Linked DNA regions of Homo sapiens: all the other regions are linked to region 1. The links are contacts of gene promoters, found by promoter capture Hi-C in human tissues and cell types (Jung and others, 2019). All regions are on one chromosome and are shown on one strand. Each heading gives the region's core, a stretch centred on a gene start or on the middle of the fragment in contact. The rest is flanking DNA. Distances are from core to core; before and after follow the strand shown. Region 1 holds the start of HSBP1L1 (heat shock factor binding protein 1 like 1). Region 2 overlaps NFATC1 (nuclear factor of activated T cells 1). Region 3 overlaps NFATC1 (nuclear factor of activated T cells 1). Region 4 has its middle 3.5 kb from the start of PARD6G.

The links. The method cuts DNA at HindIII sites, captures the fragments that hold promoters and counts their contacts. A contact is called where the count stands out against the background at its distance.
Region 2: a contact is called between a fragment that was not itself captured here and the fragment with the promoter of HSBP1L1 in region 1, in 2 of the 25 tissues and cell types used here (heart left ventricle and lymphoblastoid cells).
Region 3: a contact is called between a fragment that was not itself captured here and the fragment with the promoter of HSBP1L1 in region 1, in 2 of the 25 tissues and cell types used here (IMR-90 fibroblasts and spleen).
Region 4: a fragment that was not itself captured here is called in contact with the fragment with the promoter of HSBP1L1 in region 1 in 2 of the 25 tissues and cell types used here (IMR-90 fibroblasts and lymphoblastoid cells).

The regions. Positions count from the first base shown.
Region 1 is chr18:79,962,609-79,965,892 of GRCh38, reverse strand. It overlaps HSBP1L1 (heat shock factor binding protein 1 like 1), which reads right to left and starts at 1,250. Exons shown (of 4, transcript NM_001136180.2): 1 at 1,107-1,250. The coding sequence starts at 1,157. RefSeq lists a silencer at 1,024-1,593 and an enhancer at 2,689-2,768. The HindIII fragment of the contact is 12,330 bases long and covers 1-3,284 here.
Region 2 is chr18:79,466,521-79,469,804 of GRCh38, reverse strand. It overlaps NFATC1 (nuclear factor of activated T cells 1), which reads right to left. Exons shown (of 10, transcript NM_001278669.2): 8 at 2,223-2,355. LOC107985162 (a long non-coding RNA gene) reads left to right here. Exons shown (of 2, transcript XR_001753518.2): 2 at 1-486. Among named protein-coding and RNA genes, the nearest start is that of NFATC1, 72 kb to the right of the region's middle. The HindIII fragment of the contact is 4,601 bases long and covers 1-3,284 here.
Region 3 is chr18:79,498,102-79,501,385 of GRCh38, reverse strand. The region is part of intron 9 of NFATC1 (nuclear factor of activated T cells 1); the gene reads right to left. Among named protein-coding and RNA genes, the nearest start is that of NFATC1, 100 kb to the right of the region's middle. The HindIII fragment of the contact is 8,968 bases long and covers 1-3,284 here.
Region 4 is chr18:80,249,375-80,252,658 of GRCh38, reverse strand. No RefSeq gene overlaps it. Among named protein-coding and RNA genes, the nearest start is that of PARD6G, 3.5 kb to the right of the region's middle. The HindIII fragment of the contact is 3,076 bases long and covers 1-3,045 here.

The DNA of each region.
Region 1 (3,284 bases), core at 1-2,500:
GACTTCTGACAAAGGTGCTAAGGCCTTTGGATTCAGAGGGAAAGGAAAGTCTTTTCAACAAGCAGCGCGGGAATCATGAGGGCCACGTGCAGACGGGGCAGGGACCCATCCCCCTCCTCACACCACACACCATGAATGCAGGAGATCACACACCTTGGCCCAGAGCCAAGGCCATAAAGCATGCAGAGGAGGATGCAGGAGAAAATCTCGTGACCCTGCGCTCCTCAAGAATTCTTATGAAATTACTTACCAGGTCACACAGAAATACCACCATTGCTACTGAAAGCGTTTCCTGTTTATATACTGCTTTGTAGTTTACAGACTGACGTCCCACACCATTCACGGTGTAATCTACTCCTCACCCTGCGACCGTGTCCAGGGTGAGATGAGAACAGTGAGGCTGAGAAGCACAAAATTCTCCCAGCTGGGGGTTCAAGATCCCAGGGAGCCCCACGTACCATGGTGTGAATCTAGAATCCCGTCGACATAGGAGGAGGCCCCACCTCTGAACCATGCCAGGGCTTTCTACCTTTGTCAGGAAATTTACGTTAGGGTTTGCACAACGCCCAACACATTCCTTCAGATTCCAGGTCTCTTCCTCATAGCCAGTCCTCTTGTGGGCCTGGAACTCTTTGGCAAGTAGGAAGGCCTGGGGAGCGGGAGGATTTCCCGGAAGAGGCCGGAGCCCTGGGCGCTGCGACACTCGTGGGTCCCCTTTCGGGCACCCTTTGGCCCAGTTGTTTCCCCACTGACCCCGACCTCAATGCCCCCCAGTACTGCAGGGCTCCCCCCAGGACCTCAGGCCCCCCGAGGATCGCAGGGTCCCCCAGGACAGCAGGGCTCCCCCCTGCACCTCAGGCCCCCCCAGGACCGCAGGGTCCCCCAGGTCTTCAGGGGCCCCCCCAGGACCACAGGCCTCCCAGGCACTCAGGACTCCTCAGGACCACAGGAGTCCTCAGGATCGCAGGCCCCCCAGGACCTCAGGGCCCCACGAAGACCGCAGGGCACCCCCAGCACCGCAGGCTCCCCCCCCAGGACCTCAAAACCCCCCAGAACCGCAGGGGCGCCCCCATCCAGAGAGAAGCAGGAGTCGGGGAGGGGCTCACCGCGTCCCGCAGCGCGCGCCCGCCGGGGGCTTCAGGGCCCCGCACGTCCATGTGGACCGCTGGCCGGGGGCGTCAGTGGGGGGTCCCGTGGGCCGCGCGGACCCGGCGCGAGGTGGCGACAGCTAAGCTCCGCGATTCCCGTATGGGCCGCCGGGAGGCCTCGGGCGGAGCGCGCTGCGTTCCAGGGCGGAGGCGGGGCCGGAGCGGAGAGGCGGGCGCTGCACCTGCAGGGACGCAATGTCACCGAGCGGCCGCCTCGGAGGACTGGTCCGCGCCCCCAGGCTCTGCGGCTTCCCGAGCCGAGCCGAGCCGAGGCCCCGGGACGGCCTGGGCGGAGCCGCCTTACTCAAGAGGGCCCGTGGGCGCCACCGGCCACCTACACCCCCAAAACGCTCCGCACGGGCAGTGCATGGGCCTCGGTCACCCCTGCTGCGTTTCTCAGAGACGGGGGCTCGCTCTGTGGCCCAGGCTGGGGTGCAGTGGCGACTATGGCTCCCCGCAGCCTCGACTTCCCGGGCCCAAGCGATCCTCCTGCCTCGGCCTGGCCAGTAGCTGGGACCACGGGCGCGCGCCACCAGGTCCGGCTGATCTTTTTTATTTTTTGTAGAGACGGGATCTTACTATGTTGCCCAGGCTGGTCTCGAATTCCTGGGCACAAGTGATCCTCCTGCCTCGGCCTCCCAAAGTGCTGGGACCGCAGGCCTGGGCCACCACGCCGGGCCTTCCCTGGCCTCTTTCACACCTGGGTTGTGGCTCGTCACCTTGTGGGTGACCTCCCAGGACGGTGTTTTAGGGTTACCAGTCTTGTTGCCATGTCTGTGCCCCTGTGCAGCGCTGTGGGAACAGGGCTATGTCTGGTCACCCCAGCATCCCTAGGGCACAGCCCAGTGACCACACCTGGAAGCTCTGGTGTCTCCATGTGCGGATAAATAAAACACAGCCACCCAGCACCACCGCTGTGGCGTGGCGGTTCCCGCCAGGTTACTTCAGGGCGGATGTCTGTGGCCTGAACCCTAAAGGCCAGGCGGTGAGTCCAGGCCACGGTGCCCAGCGAGGAGCAGGTGTCCCTGAGAACCCAAACAGCCCGGAGGGGATGTGAGAACCACCACAGGGAGCAGGCCCATCACACAGACGGCGCAAAGAGGCAGAAAATTAGCTCAAAAGCAGCTTAGGGACAGAAGCACGCTCATCTCTAGAGTTGTCCTGCTGCCCACGAGTGCCCCACATGTGAGTCCTAATAAACTCACCTACTCACCAAGCTGGACTCCGCCCAGTCATTCTTTGGTCTCTCAGCAACTCCCACTTTAGGGTAAGGTTTTAAATGTGATTCTCGGTTTTTCTCATTACAACCAGTCATCAGGAAAACACAAACCAAAACCACAATGAGCTCCCACTGCAACCCACCAGCATGGCTAGAATCAGAGAGACAAACGTAAGTCCGAGAGGCGTGTGGGGATTGTGGCCCCCCCCACGCAGCCGGTGGGCTGTGAAAGGCTGCAGTGCTGTGAAAAAGTCGGGTGGGTCCTCAGAAGTGAAGCAGTTTCCACAGGGCCCAGCCGCGCCACCCCTAGGCATATACCGAAACGACAGCGCGAGTGCACCAAGTCTACTGCAGCATCAGTAATGCTCAAAAGGTGGAAACCACCCAAATGTCCACCCCCAATAAGTAGGTGACAAAATGCAGATGATAGAATATTCCTCAGCCACACAAAGGAGTGAGGCGCTGACGCACGCTACGAAGCAGGCGGGCCTCCGGAACAACGCTGGGTGGCAGAGGCCAGGCGTGAAGACCCTGAGTGGTAAGTCCATGGAGAGTTGGAACAGGCAAGGCCACGGAGACAGAAAGTTGACTTCTGTTGCTGGGGGCTGCAGGGACGAGGGAGAGTGCGGAGAGATTTAGGAGGTCTGGGGTTTCTTTGTGGGGGGACAAAAATGTTCTAAAATTAGATCGTAAGAAGGTTTCACAACCCTGTAAATATACTCAAAACTGTTGAATTATGCCCTTTAAATGGGTGGGTTTTGTGGTATGTGAATTACATTTCAATGAAGCTGTTAAAATTATTTTTTAAAAGCATGGCCATTTTGCCACTTTTTGTGTGCTTTTAGCATCCTCCTCTTTTTTTCTGTCTCTGAGAGAGGCTGAGATACAAACTTAGTTGTAGGGGCCAGTGTGGACGG
Region 2 (3,284 bases), core at 372-2,871, 500 kb after region 1:
GTGCTTGTGGGGACCTGGGATGGTCACCCAGGGACTATGGTGCTACGTCCAGGAGAGAAGAGACGACGGAGGCAAAGAGAGGGAGAACGGGCGAAGGCTGGTGCCCAGGGTGAGCCTGGGGAACCTGGCCTGCGTTGAGCCATGCTGGAGCAGATGGGGGGTGGAGGGTGCAGCCGAGACACTGGGCAGGGGGTGCAGGAGAGATGTCCACGCTGGGCACAATGCTGAGAGGGGAGCCGGGGCCAATCGAGGCAGGAGTGTGGCTGGTAGGACAGGACGGCCGGCTGCCAGGTGGGGTGTGGACTGGAGGTAGCAGGAGCGGCTCAGCCCCACCGGCTTCATGCTGTGGCCACGGTCCTGGGGGCCGCCACCTCCCACCTGTGAAGGGCAGGCACGCTCCCCGCACGCCCCTTCTGCCTCTGAGATACGTGATCTGTGCTAAAGTCAGTGCTGCTCAAACCCACGGTGGGGACTGCCGCATGCTGAGCAAATAAGAAAAAAATTAATGCACTGCTCTGGAAAGCAATCCTTCTCTATAAGGCCTAGGTTTTCTTTAAAACATTCAATTTCTGGTCAACCATGCTTGAAGTTTAATTAGGACTCAATCATTATATTTTCAGAAAAAGATAAAATATTTTCTTCTGTAAGATATATTGTACTTTGTTCCAAGAATGGGCTGGACTCACTAAGTGTGGGCGGCACAGACCACGTAAACCCCAGGGGGGTCCAGAGCGTGAGGCCCTTCCCCACAATCCCGGGGGTCCCAGAGCGTGAGGCTCTTCCCCACAATCCCGGGGGTCCCAGAGCGTGAGGCTCTTCCCCACAATCCTGGGGGTCCCAGAGCGTGAGGCCCTTCCCCACAATCCCGGGGGTCCCAGAGCATGAGGCTCTTCCCCACAATCCCGGGGGTCCCAGAGCATGAGGCCCTCCCCACAATCCTGGGGGTCACAGAGCGTGAGGCTCTTCCCCGCGAGGGCTGGGCTGGGGGCTGCACATCACCCCTGCAGCTCTGTCTCACAGACACTCTTAGGGTACAGCGACTTTACAGCAAAACCCCATTTTCCACATCTTGAGAGGCCTTTCCAGAGCTTGCCTGATAAAAACAAGGAGTCCCAACAGTTTGGTGTGAACGTGGGGATTCAAGGGCTTCCTTAGGATCTGGTCTATTACAAATGCTGTTTACATTCAGAGAAAATGGAAACCTTCCAAAACACCCTGATTTTACTAAGAGAACGCAGCTGCTTTTGCAATTAGCGCCCAGTGTGTAATTTCCCTCTCAGATGACAGGAATCTCTGCAGTTTTTAGAAAAAAAGCAATATAAAAAGATTATTGATGTTAGCTAAGCTTACCCAAAATACAGTAAAATTCAGGATGACCGCTAACTGTCCCCTCCGAGCTGTGGGGAGTGGCCTGTACCCACAAAATACAGTAAAATTCAGGATGACTGCTAATTCTGTCCTCTCCGAGCTGGGGGGAGTGGCCTGTACCCACAAAGGAAGCCGGGGATGGCGTGGGGGACGCCTTTCTCTTCTACTGGTTCAGGGACTGAAGAAACAAACTGGATGGTATTTTCTTTAAGAAAACACCCTAAAGGTTAAAAAGGTAAGATGATTTTTTTTTTTTTTTGTATGAGTGAAAAGGAGCCATTCCCACGGCGGGTGAGGGGCAGGCAGGTTGAGGAGAAGGTGCCCCAGCCTGGATGCCCGTGGTCCCAGGAGATGAAGTTACCCCTGGAGAAGTGTCTCGGGGACGTCCGCCCAGCACAAAGCTCATTCACCATCCTTAAAGACCACATCAGGACTACAGGCTTAAAAGCAAAGTTTATTCCTAAAGGTGCCTGCAAAATAGCTATACCTATTTGCCTTTTCACCGTAAGCAGCTTTAGGGTGCAAATGCACACCAGGACCCCCTCAGTTTTTTGGAGCAGAAGAGCCATGTTTTCCCCTTGGCTGTTATACATTCGCAAGAAGCAAAATAACCGTGACTATCTGAGTATGCAACCCCCGCCCCCCACCCCCAACAGGGATCAAGGAAAATGCATCCGAAGCTTCCCTTTTCCTTTCCTTTTCAGGGCATCGATGGCTCGGTCTCACTAACGGGACATCACACAGTTAAATGTGCAACACGCCACGCTGCTTTACGGCGACGTCGTTTCTGCGTCTTTAGAAAAAGCACCCCACGCGCTCATGTTCACGGCTTACGGTTAGAAAGATGGCGTTACCGTTGGCGGGAAGGTAGGTGAAACGCTGGTACTGGCTTCGCTTTCTCTTCCCGTTGCAGACGTAGAAACTGACGTGAACGGGGCTGGTTATCCTCTGATTCCGAAATGGCGGGATCTCAACCACCAGAGAATTCTACAGGAGAAGGGCACACAGGAGGCACAATCAGCACCGGGCAGGCGATGGCTGCCGCGCCACGGCGGCCACACGGCAACCCCGCGTTTCCACGGCGGCCACACGGCAACCCCGCGTTTCCACGGCGGCCACACGGCAACCCCGCGTTTCCACGGCAGCACAGGACTGCCGTGACGGTAAACTCCCAAGCAGCCACCTGGGCGGTCCAGAAGCAGCTGATGACAGCCCTGGATGCTCTGTGCCACCTGCACACGCGTGTGGACACGCACGCTCACAGGGAAGGGGCTGCCCTTGGCTTCTTGCACACCCAGGAGCCGAGAGGCTTCCTCAGAGCAGCACAGCAGACAAGACCAACCTAAGACTGAAATCTTGTCAATATGGGGAAAGAAGCCAGGAAAAGAGAAGCTGTAAACAGAACTGGGACCGGGTGCCTGAGGGTGGAGGTTGCCCGGGGCCACCTGGGCAAGGGGACTGGCGGGGATGCAAAAGGCTCTGCCTGCTCTGATGCCAAAGGGTTGGTGACCTTCAGAAAACGACCCAAGGCTCCGCCGCCAGCCACTGTGTGATGGAAGTGCTCGGTGGCCCAGCACCTGCTCAGGTGACTGCAGCGAAACCCAGAGGAGCAGGTGCTTCCTGGAGACGCGGTCTCTGGGGAGGGCCTGTGTTTGTCACATTTGACGATGGCCGAGGCCCTCAGTCAGACCCCAAATTCACTCCAACTGAGGAAGAGGAGGCAGGCCCTGACCCCCGCAGACCCCGGGGTGGGAACAGCCAAGGGCACGGAGGCACAGACAGCAGAGGGCGGCGTGTGGAGGCTGCCGTTACCTTCTCATGTTTTTAATGTAACAGCCAGCAGCATGTTTACGAAACTCATGCTCCTTCAAGTATACACATGAAACACAAGCCATGGGACGTGTGGCGCTGTTCGC
Region 3 (3,284 bases), core at 488-2,987, 460 kb after region 1:
GACGATTCAGTGTGATGATCACTGTTTTTTTTTCTGTGTATGACTTTGATCAGGTTAAGAAGTTCCCTTGTGTTCTAAGTTTGTCAAGAGATTTTATCATAAGTTGGTGTTGGATTTTGTTAAATGCTTTTTTTCTTGCATTTATTGAAATGATCACGTGGTTTCTGTCCTTTTTCTATTAATATGGTACATCACATGACTTCATTTTCTGATGCTAAACCAACCTTGCATTACTGGGATAAATCCCACTTGGTCATGGTGTAAAATCTTTTTTTTATGTTGTTGGATTCAGTTTGATAATATTTTGTTGTGGATTTTTGCTCCTGTGTTCATAAAGAATATTTTTCTATAGTTTTTCTTACGATACTTTTGATTTTGGTATTAGGGCTATACTGGCTTCAGTATTAGAAGTGTTCCTTCTTCATTTTCTGAAGAGTTTGTGGAGTATTGGCACTGGTATTATTCTTGTAATGTTTAATAAAATTAACCAGTAAAGCTCTCTGGGTCTGGGCTTTTCTTTGTGAGAATATGTTAAATTATTAATTTCTTTTATTTCCCTGCTATAGGTCTATTATACTTTTCTGTTTCTTCCTGAGTCAGTTTAGGTAATTCGTGTCTAAGAATGTTTCCATTTCATCCAGGTTGTTTAATCTGTTGGCATAAGGTTATAGTATTCCCTTATAACCTTTTGATTTTTGCAGGGTCAGTAGCAATGTCCCCTCTTTCATTCCTAATTTTTCTTGTTAGAAAAACTCATTAAAGTTTTGTCAATTTTGTTGTTTTTTCAAATAACTAACTTTGGTTTTATTGATTTTTCTCATGTTTCTATTTCATTGCTTTTTCTTCTCATCCTCAGCATTTCCTTTTTTCCACTTGCCTTGGGTTTTTTCTCTCCTTTTTCAACATTTTTAAGGAAAAAGCTTAGATTATTGATTTGAAATCCATCTTATTCCTCATATAGGCATTTAAAGCTATAAATTTCCCTCTAAGCACTGCCTTACCTGCATCCCACAAATTTTGATATGTTGTGTTTTCATTTGCATTTAGTTCAAAATATTTTCCAATTTCCCTTATACTTTCTAACTTCACTCATTAATTATTTAGAAATGTGTTGTTTAGTTTCCAAATATTTGTGGAAATATCTGTTGTTGATTTTCAATTGATATCCATTGCAATCAGAATATTTTGAAATTTATTAAGGCTTGTTTTATGGCATAGTAGGAAGTCTATCCTATGTGCACTCTGTAGAGTGTCCTACAGATGTCTTGTAAAGTTGGTTGATAGTCTTAAGTGTTTTATATCCTTTTGATTTTCTGTCTAGTTGTTCTATCCATTAAGAGTGATATACTGGTCTCCAGCTATTATTTTTCAACTATGTATTTCTCCCTTTAATTCTGTCAGTTCTTGTTTCATGTATTATGGGGCTCTGTTATGTGCAAATGTGTTTATATCTTCCTGTTCAATGTATCAGGTTTAAGATCAAAGAGAACATGACTACTGACAGTTCATTGTTTCTAGTAATATTTTTATCTTAGAGTTTAATTTGTCTGATATTAGTGTAGCTACTCCAAATTTCTACATTAACTCTGCCTATCTTTTTCATCCTTTCACTTTCAACCTATTTGTGTCTTTAAATCTGAAGTATGTATTTTTTCCATTATCTCCATATCTCTTTTGATTACTATTGCACAGTATCTCTTTATCATTTTACTTTCAACCTATTTGTGTCTTTAAATCTAAAATATGTATTTTTTAGACAGCATATGGTTGTACCCTGTTTCATTCTGTCTTTAACATCCAGTCTGACAACATCTACCTTTTTATTGGGGTGTTTATTCCACTGACATTTAATGTGATTATTGATACGGTAGGATTATGTTTTCCATTTTGCTATTTGTTCTCTACATGTCTTGTGTAACTTTTGCTGTTGTCATTGTTTCTATGTTCCTTCATTACTGGCTTATTTTGTGTTACACACATATTTTCTAGTGTATCATTTAAGTGCATTTTTTGACATTTTATGTGTGTGTGTGACACACTCACACACATATATATTTTCTTAGTGGTTCCTCTGGAGATTACAACAAGCATCTTAGTCAAAACAGTCTATTTCAGATGAATACTGAGTTCTAATAATATGTAAAGACTTTGCTTTGCTGTAACTTCCTTCCCCACCCCTTCCTTTGTGCTACTGTCACACAAATTGTTATAAGCACATTGTTATCAGCACAGGTTTGCAATCGTGTCTTATGCAGTTTCCTTTTACATCAGTTCAGAGAAGAAAAGTTTAAAACATGTTTGTGCTGTCTTTTTAATTCACCTATGTAATTACTCTCACCAGTGCTTCTTACCTCAGCCTGAAGGACTCCCTTTAATATGTCCTGTAGGTCAGGTCTGTTGGCAACAAATTCTGTGTGTCTTGTTTATCTGAGCACAGCTTTGTTTCTTCATCTCTAAAGATGAGTTTTACTAGATATAGAATTCTTGGTTGACAGTGGTTTTCTTTCAGCATTTTGAATGCGCCGTCCCACTGTCCTCCGACATCCACGATTCACAATAAGCAGCTGGCTGTTAATCCTGCTGAGCATCCCACGTACTGAGAAGCTGTTTTCCTCTCACTGCTTTCGGGATTGTCTCTCCCTTTGACTTTCAACAGTTTGGTTTATGTCTGTGTGTGAGCTGCTTTTAATTTATCCCATTTGAATTTTGTGAACCATTTGGATGCACTGAATAATGTTTTCCATCAAATTTAGGAAGTTTGGGGCCATTATTTCTTCACGTATTTCTTCTAATCATCTCTTTCTATAACTCATTATGCATGTGTATATGTGTTTACAGCATCTCACATGCTCTGAGGCTTTGTTCATTTTTATTGATTCTTTCTTCTTTCTGTTCCTCAGTCTAAATAATCTGTTGATTTTTACGTTTGATTCTTTTTCTCTGCCAGCTCAAATCTGTTGTTCAGCCTCTCTAATGCATTTTTCATTTACTTTTCAACTGTGTAATTTCTATTTGGCTTCTTTTTTTTTTTTTTTAAAAATCTCATTATGGATATTCTCTATCTGGTAAGATATATTTGCCACACTCCCCTGTAATTTTTTAAATACAATTTCTTTCAGTTCTTTGAGCATATTTATTGCAGCTGATTTAAAGCCTTTGCTGGTCTAATACCTGAGCCCTCTCAGGGGCTACAGATTTTTCTTCCTGTGGATGGGACATATTTTCATGTTTTCTTGCATGTACTATAATTTTTTGGTTTACAACTGGAGATGACAACTAATGCA
Region 4 (3,284 bases), core at 258-2,757, 290 kb before region 1:
TGAGTGATCAAGCAGCATCTTCCGGGAAGATTTCCCCACATATCTAAGAATAAGGAGTTGATGCATATCCATTTAGAGTGAATGAACTCTTCACACCTAGCTTCAGGATTCTTGCTTTGGCTAAGACCTCAAGGCCAGAAGACATGAGTGCTTCCTTAATGTTTGTATTGCCAGGGCCCGGTACAGGCCGCCACCATGGCAGAATTTGATGAATCAGAGACATTATCTTGGAGATGGCCGTAAACTGGACCACCAAGAAACCATGCTGAAATAGACAAGAGGAAAAGCATGCAGTTTCATCTAATAGGAAATCAGTAGGGCCTGCAACTGCTTTGAACCTCTGAAATGCTTTGGGAGTGTGCACGAGGAGATGAATCATGCTGATGAATGGATGCTGTGTGGCTGAAAACTGACCACGCTTTTCTGCCATAAAATCACATTCTGATACATTCACCAAGTCAGTGAAAAGCTTTACGGACTGACTCTTTTTAAAACAGATCCTGAGACTCTAATCCATGCTTAGTGTAATACTTGGAACAAAGACTGTGCTTCATGTTCTAGGTGCTTTTATTTGTATTTTGTAAAAGTGTCCCAGAGTTTTAATGCAAAGTCAGAGACAGCTGCGTAAGGTTTACCACCTGCCTTTTGTCTTCCACCTGGGGGTGGACATGCAGGTCACACCGCAAGCTGGTTGAGGAGAGAGCCCTTTGCACCAATCTAGGGGATGCAACCAGGGCCACTTTGTAGGATGTGGGCAGATGGCTCTGGAATGCAGGGAATTCATTCTATTCTGGCCAACGGTGCCATCTGCTGAAAGAGCTACTGGTAAGTCAATTTAGGCATGAAGCTTCCATTGAGAGTCAAGATATTACTGCATCAAAAAGGCAGAAGAGGCTAGACACAGTGGCTCACACCTATAATCCCAGCACTTTGGGAGGCCGAGGCGAGTGGATCACCTGAGGTCAGGAATTCGAGATCAGCATGGACAACATGGTGAAACCCTGTCTCTACTAAAAATGCAAAATTAGCCGGGCGTCGTGGCACATGACTATAGTCCTAGCTATTTGGGAGGCTGAGGCAGGAGAATCGCTTGAACTCGGAAGGCGGAGGTTTCAGTGGGCCAAGATCGCGCCATTGCACCCCAGCCTGGGCAACAAGAATGAAACTCCATCTCAAAAATGAAAATTTTTAAAAAAGGCAGAAGAGGCCTCTTTGAGCAGGGGAAGAGTAAAGGGTAAAAAGAAGGGATGCCTTTATATGAGAATCAGGTGATAATGAGGCATAACTACTCTGCCATTTCCTTATTTCAATCGAATATCAGTTCTTTGCCTGCCTCATCCGAAAATATATTAGAATGCATTGCAAATGCAACAGCCTGCTGGTTCAAATATTACAGCGATGCTTTCCTATTACCCAACGAAATTATCTTAGAGAATGTTTTCTTAGAACATATACATCAGCAACAAATGTTCAATCATAAAAGAGCCTGCTCTCATCATAAAAGAGCCTGCTCTCATCATAAAAGAACCTGCTCTCATCTTTTTTTCAACAGGGTCTCACTCTGCTATGCCCTGGAGTGCAGTGGCATGATCACAGCTCACCACACACTCGACCTTCCAGTCTCAAGAAATCCTCCCACCTCAGCCTCCCCAGTCTCAAACAATCTGCCCCTCTTGGCCTTCCAAAGTGCTAGGATTACAGGCATGAGCCACTGCAGAGGGGCCTTCCAAAGTGCTAGGATTACAGGCATGAGCCACTGCAGAGGGGCCTTCCAAAGTGCTAGGATTACAGGCTTGAGCTACTGCACCCAGTCAAGGAATACATTTTACTGGGTCCACAACATACTTCCTTTTTGCTCCTGATGGTTCAGTTATTAGATGGGTTCTTAGAAGCCGTGATTTGAGGAAGATTTAACCCCTACCCATTCCTATTTTCTCTCTCATTTTCTGTCTGAAACAAGTCAGCCTCTCAGAGGCTCCCATGACCCCCAGTTGTGTGAAAAGGCAGGCTATCAGGCCAGGATCTGAGGAGTCTTTTCTCTCTCTCCTTTCTTTTCTCTTTCTTTCTTCTTTTCCTTTTCCTCCCCCACTCCCTTCTTTTTGCTTAGATGAGGTCTCTCTCTGTCACCCAGGCTGGAGTGCAGTGGCACAATCATAGCCCACTGCAGCCTCGACCTCCTGGGCTCAAGCAATTCTCCCACCTTGGCCGCCTGAGTAGCTGGGACTATAGGTGTGTCCCACCATGCCCAGCTAATTTTTTTTTTTTTTTGGAGAGACAGGGTTTCACCATGTTGCCTAGGCTAGTCTCAAACTCCTGGCCTCAAGCAATCCTCCAGCCTCAGCCTCCCAGTGTGTTGGGATTACAGGTGTGAGCCACTGTGTCTGGTAGGAGAGGGCTTTTGTTTTTTCCAATCTGGCTGCTGTACTGTGTAAAAGCCTTTCCAGCTGAAGGCTCAGTTAATTTTTTTTTGGTCTATACCCGCCTGAACCTAGAGCTCAAAGCCCTAGCAAATCCAGTTCAAGTCTCAGCTGGAAACTCAAGCTCCACACGCAACAGCAAGCTTTCCCAGCCTTTCCTCCTGCTTTTGCCTGCAGATCATGCCAATCAAGAACTGTGGAGCAACAGATGATTAAGATAAAGGAGCAGCACCTCTCAAACTTCAGTGTGGACATGAATCACCTGGGGATCTTGTTCAAGTGCGGATTCTGATTCAGTGGGTCTGGGTGGGGTATTGCTAACAAGTGCCAGGTGGAGCAGATTTTGGGCCTTACACCACACTCTGAGCCACAGGCATTGACAAAGTGATCTCACTCTCATCAACCTGGTCCAGAGCCAAGTCTAGGGCTACTTGAAATTCCGTAGCCTTCCAGCCTTTCCTTTAAAAGGCGTCTTCCCACTCCAAAGCCCCGAGCTTACTGGGTGGACCCCACTCCCACCTTCATTGCCTACAGTGCTGTTCATTCCTCCACATACTCCTTTGTCCCTGCATTTCTTAAAATGTGACAGTTGGAGCTCCTCCCTCAGGATATTACTGAGCCTCTTCTAACCACAAAACAATGTTGCCCACTGTAATGGGCAACTTGCAGTCAGCATTGAGCCTGTGACTTTTCTCAAATCCAAAGATTTGCATTCAGTTTAGGAAATTTCCCTTGAAAGAATGGCAGCACCTCTGTCCACAGTCTGCTTGCCAAGTGTGTGTCTCTTGGCATTTTTTGTTTGCTTGCTTACTTACTGCGCACGTGCCTTGTTTTGGAACTCTGTTTACATATCCGGTCCTCTGGCCA